3 separate regions of the Homo sapiens genome follow, and all the other regions are linked to region 1. The links are contacts of gene promoters, found by promoter capture Hi-C in blood cells and fetal thymus (Javierre and others, 2016). All regions are on one chromosome and are shown on one strand. Each heading gives the region's core, a stretch centred on a gene start or on the middle of the fragment in contact. The rest is flanking DNA. Distances are from core to core; before and after follow the strand shown. Region 1 holds the start of CLMN (calmin). Region 2 overlaps DICER1 (dicer 1, ribonuclease III). Region 3 overlaps DICER1 (dicer 1, ribonuclease III).

Region 1 (2,700 bases), core at 38-2,537:
TCGCCTCTCTGCCCAGGCCTCCCAGCTCGCTCCTAGCCACTCCTAACCTTGAACCCTCTAGAAACCCAAGCCAGCAGGGGAAGCAGCTACAGAAACTTCACCTGCACAGGTCAATGTGGGTGAAGAAGGGCCGGAAGTGGTGTTCTGTCTAGTTCTGCAAAGCCCATATATGAAAAAAAAGAAGCTGGAGATACAGTTCCATGAAGAACACCTGTCTGTTGGGTGGATAGGTTGTGGAGGGGAAATTATGGGTGACTTTTTTCCTTCAAATATTTTTGTGCTTTCTAAGTTTCCACATTGAATAAATTCTTTTGAAAGAGAAACACACTTCATGTGTGGCACCGCCATACCCAGCCGCTCTCCACCACTGGAGTTTCTCTTTCACCTCTTCTCAGCTACCTCCCAGGTAGAAGCCTTGGTCCCAGTGTCCTGTGCCCAGGCAGGGTCGGAGTTGGGGGCCAGCGTGGGGGAAGGGTGGGGCTCTCGCCCTCTCCCCAGTTAGAGTCCTGATCCTGCAGGGGAGGGGCAGCTCCCTAAGCAAAGTGGCCGCTGGAGTTGGGTGCTTGCCTGACCCCACCGATCCGATCCGCACCCCTGGCCCCGCTTTCCCCAACTCACCCCCTGAAGCGCCGCCCACCATTCAATTCCCCTTGCCTCGAAGGTACTTAGGAAGTGCGCGAACTCACACACACACACACACACACACACACACACACACACAGAGTCGCACTGTCTCCTCCCCTCCCTAACCTGGGCCACCGCCCCCAAGAGCCCACGTACAAACTTCTCCAAACTCGCAGCGGTGACTGGAGGGGGTGGTGACGTCCCCCTAATGAAAATGCGAGCCCTCGCCCCACAACACACACACGTGTGGCGCCCCACCCCCTGGGCAACTGTAAACCTGGCCGCGGCTGGCCGCCCTGGGGCTTGGGGGCGGGTATCCAACCCCAGCCTCCCACCTCGAGGCAAGTGACAGGAACAACGAGCGGCCGGCGAGCGGGGGCGGCGCGGGGGAGTTGCCAAGTGTCGGAGCGGCGCCCCGGGCCCCCCGAGCGCCCAGCCATCCCGGGGCGAGCCTGGGCTGCGTTACCTTGCAGGTTCTGCACTCGGATGTCGCTAATCTGCCCGATGAGCTCCTCGCGTTGGAACCAGTCCCACTCGTGTGCAGCCATGAAGCGCGGGCGGGAGAGCCCGGGCCAGCGCGGCGCGGGCGGCGGGCGCGGAGAGCCTGGCTGGCGGGCGCGCGAGCGGCACGCACCCGGCGAGGGCGCCGCGGAGCTGGAGTCGCGGCGGGCGCGGGCGGGGCGCGGGCGCGGGCGGGGCGGGGCGGGGCGGGGAGGGGCGGGCGGCGCGGTCGGGGCCGCCCCCGCCGCGGGCTGGCGCGAGCGAGCGCGGGGCGGCGGGTGCGGGGCGGCGGGCTCGCTCTCACTCCCCCGTGCGGGGGCGGGGGCCCTGAGGAGCGAGGGGCGAGGGGCGAGGGGCGGGGCGGGGCGGGGCAGGGGCGGGAGGCTGGGTCAGGCCAGCTTGTGTTTTTTTTCTTTCCGGGGTGTTTGTAGGTTGGATTGTTTGGTTACAAACCGGCTGTGATGAGGCGCGGGTCCCGGCCCCCAGATTGTGATGTCTCAGGGGGCGGTGGGCCGGGTGACGCAACTGGGGGTGGGCCCGTGGGTCCCAGTACCTGGTCCAGGAGGCAGCGTCTCCCTCCCGTCCGGGATAAGACACCCCCTCCGCGGGTCCCCTGTCCACTCTGGAGAGGCAGCCCCCACTTGGAGGGACCAGGACCCGAGCCCTGCCCATCCCCGAATCCTGGGAGCCCTGCGTGGGGAGTGTCGAGGGCCTGGGTCGGGGGGCAAACTAGTGTGGAGGTAAAGTTGTGGGAGTCTCCAAAGTGCGGGGGGGCTGTGAAAGAAGGGCCTTCTTCGTTGGTTTAGATACTAGGAGCCTTTTCCGGTCCAGTAATGTGACTCCAGCTTCTAGGAAGGAACAAGAAGCAGGCCAACTCCTAGGAGCTGGGGTACGCTGTGGGGTCTCTGGCCACTGAGTCTCCAAGTGACCCTCTGTGGGGTCACTGGAAATTAGTGAAAATGCCAGGACAGAACTTCCTGTGGAGACTACTGAAAATGCCAGGACAGGCCTTCCGGTCCCCTCCCTCCCCACCTCCACTGTTGAACTCTAGAGAATTCCAGGATCTTATCCTGTTTGGTGCCCACCATGTGGTTTACACTCCTTAAAAGTGAGACCCTACAGTTACCGAATTTGCCCAAGGTTGAGGAATGACTTAGGAGCAGGAAGTCCCAGCCCCCTGCTCCCAGCTCAGTGCTTGGGCCCTTTCTGTGACAACTAAGGCCACAAAGAAAATGGCTTTAAATATTCAGTGTTCCAAGAGGGGGAAAAAAATGGACAGGGCTCACTGGGCATTTAAACACATGGGCCTGTGTGCATCGCTGCTCTGTTCACAGCAATGAATCCCGGAAACCCGGCTGCTCACTAATTACCCAGTAACTATGGAGGTCCCCCGAAGGACAGACCTGTGCCCTTGAGGCAGGGCCCTGAAGGAGGGTGAGTCTACCCTCCAGTCATCCATTGGGGCAGGGGCTATCGTGTGGCCCTTAAACAAGGAAAGGAGATTTCTAAAGTGGACTCCAGAAAGGAGAAAGTCAATTTGGGTTAAGGAACTGTGAATGCGGGTGGAGGGCAGCA
Region 2 (2,700 bases), core at 30-2,529, 170 kb before region 1:
ATAGCATCAGATCCCACAGGTTGAGGGCTCCAGTCCTCAAGACCTCCCCCACCCTTCCGTGTCAATTGCAAACCTCAGGTTATTTTTTGCCCGTGCTCCCGACCAATCAGTTAACTGGGGTTCCCACAACGCCCTCCTGGGATTTAACTTGCTAGACCAGCTCACAGTCCTTGGGGAAAAACTTACTTATGTTTACCAGTTTATTATAAAGGATATTACAGGCTGGGTGCAGTGGCACACGCCTGTAATCCTAGCACTTTGGAAGGCCAAGATGGGAGGATCGCTTGAGGCCAGCAGTTCGAGACCGGCCTGGTCAACACAGCGAGAGTCCATCTCAATAAAAATAAGTAAATTAATTAGGTAAAGGATATTACAAAGATCCAGATGAAGACATGCACAGGGTTAGGTATGGAGAAGGGGTATAGAGCTTCCAAGCCCTCCCAGAGCAAACTGCCCTCCAGGAACCTCCATGTGTTCAACTATCCAGAAGCTTTCCAAACTCTGTCCTTCAGGGTTTTTATGAAGACTCATTACCTGGGCATGATTAACCTTCAGCCCCTCTTCCCTCCCCAGAGGTTGGAGGGTGGGTCTGAGTCCAAACCTCTAATCATGCCTTAGTCTTCCCAGTAACCAGCCCCCATTTTGAAGCTACCAGGAGCTACCGGCCACCAGTCGATCATTAGCATACAAAAACACATCACTTTGGAGATTCTAAGGATTTCAAGCCTTGTATGCCTAAGAATAGGGTAGAGGACAGACCAAATATATATTTTACAGTATCATAGTACCTACAATTTAAACCACAAATTCATTAGCCTTCTTTTCATGCATTACTGTATCTGAACCAAATAAATTTCTGGGTTTCTCTAAATCTCTAACATAAATATGTTATGTTTAGATTTCAATATAATCATGCCTAAAATTAGATTGGTCCAAAATTGAAGTGGAACACAGGTCAAATACCATCTTAACAAATTCCACCCATCAAAGATCTCCATATAAGAAGTGTCTCCAGGCTGCAAGCCAAAGGTCCGCTTACTTCTTGGAGTACTTCTCAGAAAGATGACATTTCAACACATCAAAACAGCACAGATACCCACCCCTCCCCTTCAAGTTACCTATAATGACATTTGTCCTACAGTTTTGTTTCAAGAGACATAAATACTTAACACATCACTAGCTTTCAAGGTGAGTTTTAAGGTTCATATTTGATTCCAAGTTTCTGTACTTTACTCTTTTTTTTTATTTTTTATTTGGAGACAGGGTCTCACTCTGTCTATTTACAGGCACCATCAGAGCACATTACAGCCTTGAACTCCTGGGCTCAAGTGATCCTGCCATCTCAGCCTCCTGAGCAGCTGAGACTACAGGCACATACTTTACTCTTAACACTGTGCAACGAGTGCTAGAATTTTATTCAATTCACGACTACCCTCTACCTTTACACCAAGAAAGAGCATCCATTGGGAAAAAGGAGCCACAATTTTCTCTTTGTCAAGCTGTTTTAAGATATATAACATGAATACTTAAATACTAAAGGGAGGTCAATCCAGAGACAAAATGAACATAAGAGACTACTGAGTTAAGATGGATGTTTATTGAGACAGGAAAGCAAATATATTAAAAGGTCCAGGCAAGAGTGTGACGCACTACATCATCATAGCTTCTGCGCAACATCTCATGTTATCTGCCTTTCCCGTAACACCAAAACAAGTGTGTACCAACAGAGTTCGCCACCTCTCACGAACCCCACCCCACAACTTTCCCTAAAAACCTCTATCACTTTAGTCCCCTCCCCTCTCATTTAGCACACATGGGCTAGCTACAACACCCAAATCATCACGGGCTTCATTATATTACTGCCCCATATATTAGCTGTTATTGCCATCTCCCTCAAGAGTATTAAGATCTTTGAAAGATAATCTCATACTATACTCACATTCATATTACATAGTTCATGATTTGTTTGATTTTCACGTTACTGTAAATTTGTAATGACTAGGTAGTTTGGAATGTAGGAAAGTAAATATCCATGAATAATTTTTTATTAATTAATTCGATGTTGAGAATAAGCTTTATTGATCTTAACTATTGAATTAAAGCAGCTTTTTATAGGTCAAATATAAAACTCAAATTAGACACTTTTAAATTAAAAGACTTTAAACAACCCAAATTATTTCAACAAGCTTAACATCCTCGATCTTGGCACCCAAGTCCAAAAGAATAATTCGAGGCTAACTAGAAACTGTCAAAGCTAGAGAGGTATCAGTTAGTGCAATGATAATTTTGGTATCATCTGACTATACCCATCCTAGTTTTCTCAGTTAACTTCCAACCACTACAAAATTCTCTTCCATATTAATGCAAACTAATCTGACTCCAACCTTGAAGATGTTTCAGAAACAATTTTAAAGTTCTTAAAGTTACAGGTGCAACTGGGAAAACCCAACTCAAGACAGTCTTATTTCTCAACTTAGTTTCTCATTTTACAAACTGTATTTTGTAGGCCGGGCACGGTGGCTCATGCCTGCAATCCCAGCACTTTGGGAGGCAGAGACAGGTGAATCACTTGAGGTCAGGAGTTCGAGACCAGCTTGGCTAACATGGTGAAACCCCGTCTCCACTTAAAAAATACAAAAATTAGCTCAATATAGTGGCTTGCACCTGTAGTCCCAGCTACTCAGGAGGCTGACACAGGAG
Region 3 (2,700 bases), core at 1-2,500, 190 kb before region 1:
GAGAAGTGCTCTTCACATAGTGCATGTATTTTCCTTAGGAAAGTGTCTGTAAACAATAAAAATTTCCTGTGCAGCTCCTCTTGCTCATGTTTGATGTATTTCTGTAGTTCTCTTACCATCATTCCAGCTACTTTATCTGCACACCAGGGTCCCAGAACTACCAATACGGCACGACAGTCTGATAGTATCTACAAAAAAAAGAAAAGAAAAAACCTAATGCCAAATAATAATAATGTAGCATTTTCATGTGGGGTTTAACTGGGATTTCAGTTGTTCTCAAATGGCTCCTTAAATGTAACCCAGCCTTAGGTTAAGTCCCTGAAGGTGGGGGGAGAGGCCATTAGCCTTTTCAAGCTCATTTCGTATGTATATGCCTAGAACCATCTCCTTTTTTCAATAAAATAATCAAACAGAAATTAAAAGATGCAATTGTATGAGGTTAATGAAGCTTATTTTTAGATCTGTAATTAGTTAAAACTATACCTGAGTCATTTACTTCCTGCCAAATTACATAAAATTTATGTAGCACAGTAATTTAACTTTAGGCATCAAGGAAGAGCAATACAGTTTTCCTTGAACTTTATGTACAATATTCTCCAGCATTATATGTTTTCCACTATACTGACTAGAAACTGTGGATGAATTTTGGTCGATCTACAGTCAGCACCTCTGGATGCCACGGTGAGACTGTTGTAAAAACACTGCACAGCTGTCTCTATCATCATTTCTTTTTTCTTTCTTTCTTTCTAAACAGTAGGAAAGGCCTTTATTGGTTGGAAGTGGAAAAGGAGCTAGGACAGCTGCACTGGGGCAGCCTCCACACACTCTGTCACAGTTCTCCAAAAGCCCCTGTTATCCGATTTCAATGAAAACACCACCACAAGGTCAGGGCTCCTCAACATTAACATCTCAGCTAAATTCAGACTCTGATCCTGGACCCTCCCAGAGTGCTGCATCTTACAACTCTAATTGAGAGCCGAAAGTCAATCCATGGCCAGGGTGTAACTGAGGAATTGAGGGAGAGGGAGAGAGGCAGAGAGGCAGAGAGGGAGAGAGGGAGAGGGAGAAGGTCGGGGGAGGGAGAGGGGAAAGGTGGGGGAAGGGGAGGAGGAGGGGAGAGGAAGAGAGGGAGAAGGGGAGAGGAGGAGGGGGAGGAGGGGGAGGAGGAGAGGAGGCAGAGATGGGGGGAGGAGGGAGGGGACAGGGAGGGGGAGGAGGGAGGGGAGAGGGAGGAGGAGGGGAGGAAGAGGGGGAGGGGAGGAAGACAGGGAGGGGAGGAGGGGGAGGGGAGGGGGAGGGAGGGGAGGTACAGAAAGAGGAGAGGAGAGAAAGAGAGAGAGAGAGGAAAAAAAGACAGGAAAGAAAAGAAAGAAAAGGAAAGAGGAAAGGAAAGGGAAGGGAAAAGGAAAGGAAGAAAGAATGCAAAGATTGAGAAAAATGTGGGCACTGCTGCTCGAGAAGAAAAAAATCATCAGGAGAGAAACTAAGACCCACATTTAATACAGTGTTAACATTCACAAATGGTTGCAAAGTTCTAGGGCAGTGGTTCTCGAGCTTTAATGAATCAGATTACTGGAGGGCTTATCGAAATTCAAAACTGAAGACTGCAAACAGTAAAATTCAGTCCTGAGGACCCCACCCAGATGCTGCTGATGATGATGTGGGGCCCACAATGGAAGGATCACTGTCCTAAGGGATCTCTTCTCAAAGCAGTACCACTGAGAGACAATAGGCTCATATCCAGTTACACACACTAGGAAACTGCGGAAGAATTTGTTTAATTCAAGGGTTTGAACAGGAACTAACTCTTCTGACCAAAAAGAAACAAAAATTGGACTCACTCCTTATACTTAAATAACCATGACATGAATCCTAGCTCAGCTCCTTAAATAGGGGAAGTCTACACTTAATATAAATGTGCACTGGATAACAATGAACTCAACCTAATATGGTATGTTCAATGAAAAATGTCTAAAAAGATTAAGACCTTAAACTAAAATGCAAAGAAAAGAGCCGCATTAAGCATATTTTCATTTCAATATTAAAAATTAACAAAGCTTTCAAAATATAATCACTATACCTACTTGGTATATGCTTACCTGTTTCGAAATTAAAGTAGAATCTCTTTCTTTTGAATGTACAGATATATTACAATCATTGATAAAATTAAGTGCTTCTTCTAATTCCATCAGCAGTCTTTCATAAAGCCCACTTCTGTCAGTAAATGGTCCACAATCCACCACAATCTCACATGGCTGAGAAGTATACCTTTAACATAAGAAACAAAAGGTATCAATACTGCAGTAGTGAGAATGCAATTTAAAAAAAGTTTTTCAAAAAGCAAAAAAAAAAAAAAGGGAATAGATACTAAAAAAAAAAAAAAATGCCAGAATGTTAGCAGTGGGGTGAGATTTTAGGTGTTTAATTATTATTTTTCTATATTACCATATTTCTCAACAGTAAATAATGTATTTTATAAACCAGTAAAGTGTTGTTTAAAAGATGTTTTCAAAAGGCAAGGGGAGAAGAGGGGAAAGAAAAGAATACAAATGAGCATCCACTGCATCCCCAAGCATGATGCTGGGAATTTACATACCTTCTAACTGAATCCACACACAGGGAGGATGACGAAGGAAATGAAGGTTCAAAGACATTACATGACTCTGTCTAAACAAAACTCAGGACTGCCTTCCTCTGAGG

What was found. The method cuts DNA at HindIII sites, captures the fragments that hold promoters and counts their contacts. A CHiCAGO score of 5 or more calls a contact.
Region 2: a contact is called between a fragment that was not itself captured here and the fragment with the promoter of CLMN in region 1, in 5 of 17 cell types (monocytes, total B cells, naive B cells and 2 more). The highest score is 7.1, in monocytes.
Region 3: a contact is called between a fragment that was not itself captured here and the fragment with the promoter of CLMN in region 1, in 5 of 17 cell types (M0 macrophages, M1 macrophages, monocytes and 2 more). The highest score is 7.6, in M0 macrophages.

The regions. Positions count from the first base shown.
Region 1 is chr14:95,318,621-95,321,320 of GRCh38, forward strand. CLMN (calmin) reads right to left here and starts at 1,288. Exons shown (of 13, transcript NM_024734.4): 1 at 1,091-1,288. The coding sequence starts at 1,172. RefSeq lists enhancers at 159-278, 299-378 and a silencer at 1,009-1,268. The HindIII fragment of the contact is 9,635 bases long and covers 1-2,700 here.
Region 2 is chr14:95,147,697-95,150,396 of GRCh38, forward strand. All of the region lies in intron 1 of DICER1 (dicer 1, ribonuclease III), which reads right to left. Among named protein-coding and RNA genes, the nearest start is that of DICER1, 8.5 kb to the right of the region's middle. The HindIII fragment of the contact is 1,583 bases long and covers 489-2,071 here.
Region 3 is chr14:95,124,481-95,127,180 of GRCh38, forward strand. It overlaps DICER1 (dicer 1, ribonuclease III), which reads right to left. Exons shown (of 27, transcript NM_177438.3): 7 at 2,100-2,268; 8 at 1-188. Among named protein-coding and RNA genes, the nearest start is that of MIR3173, 12 kb to the right of the region's middle. The HindIII fragment of the contact is 1,609 bases long and covers 447-2,055 here.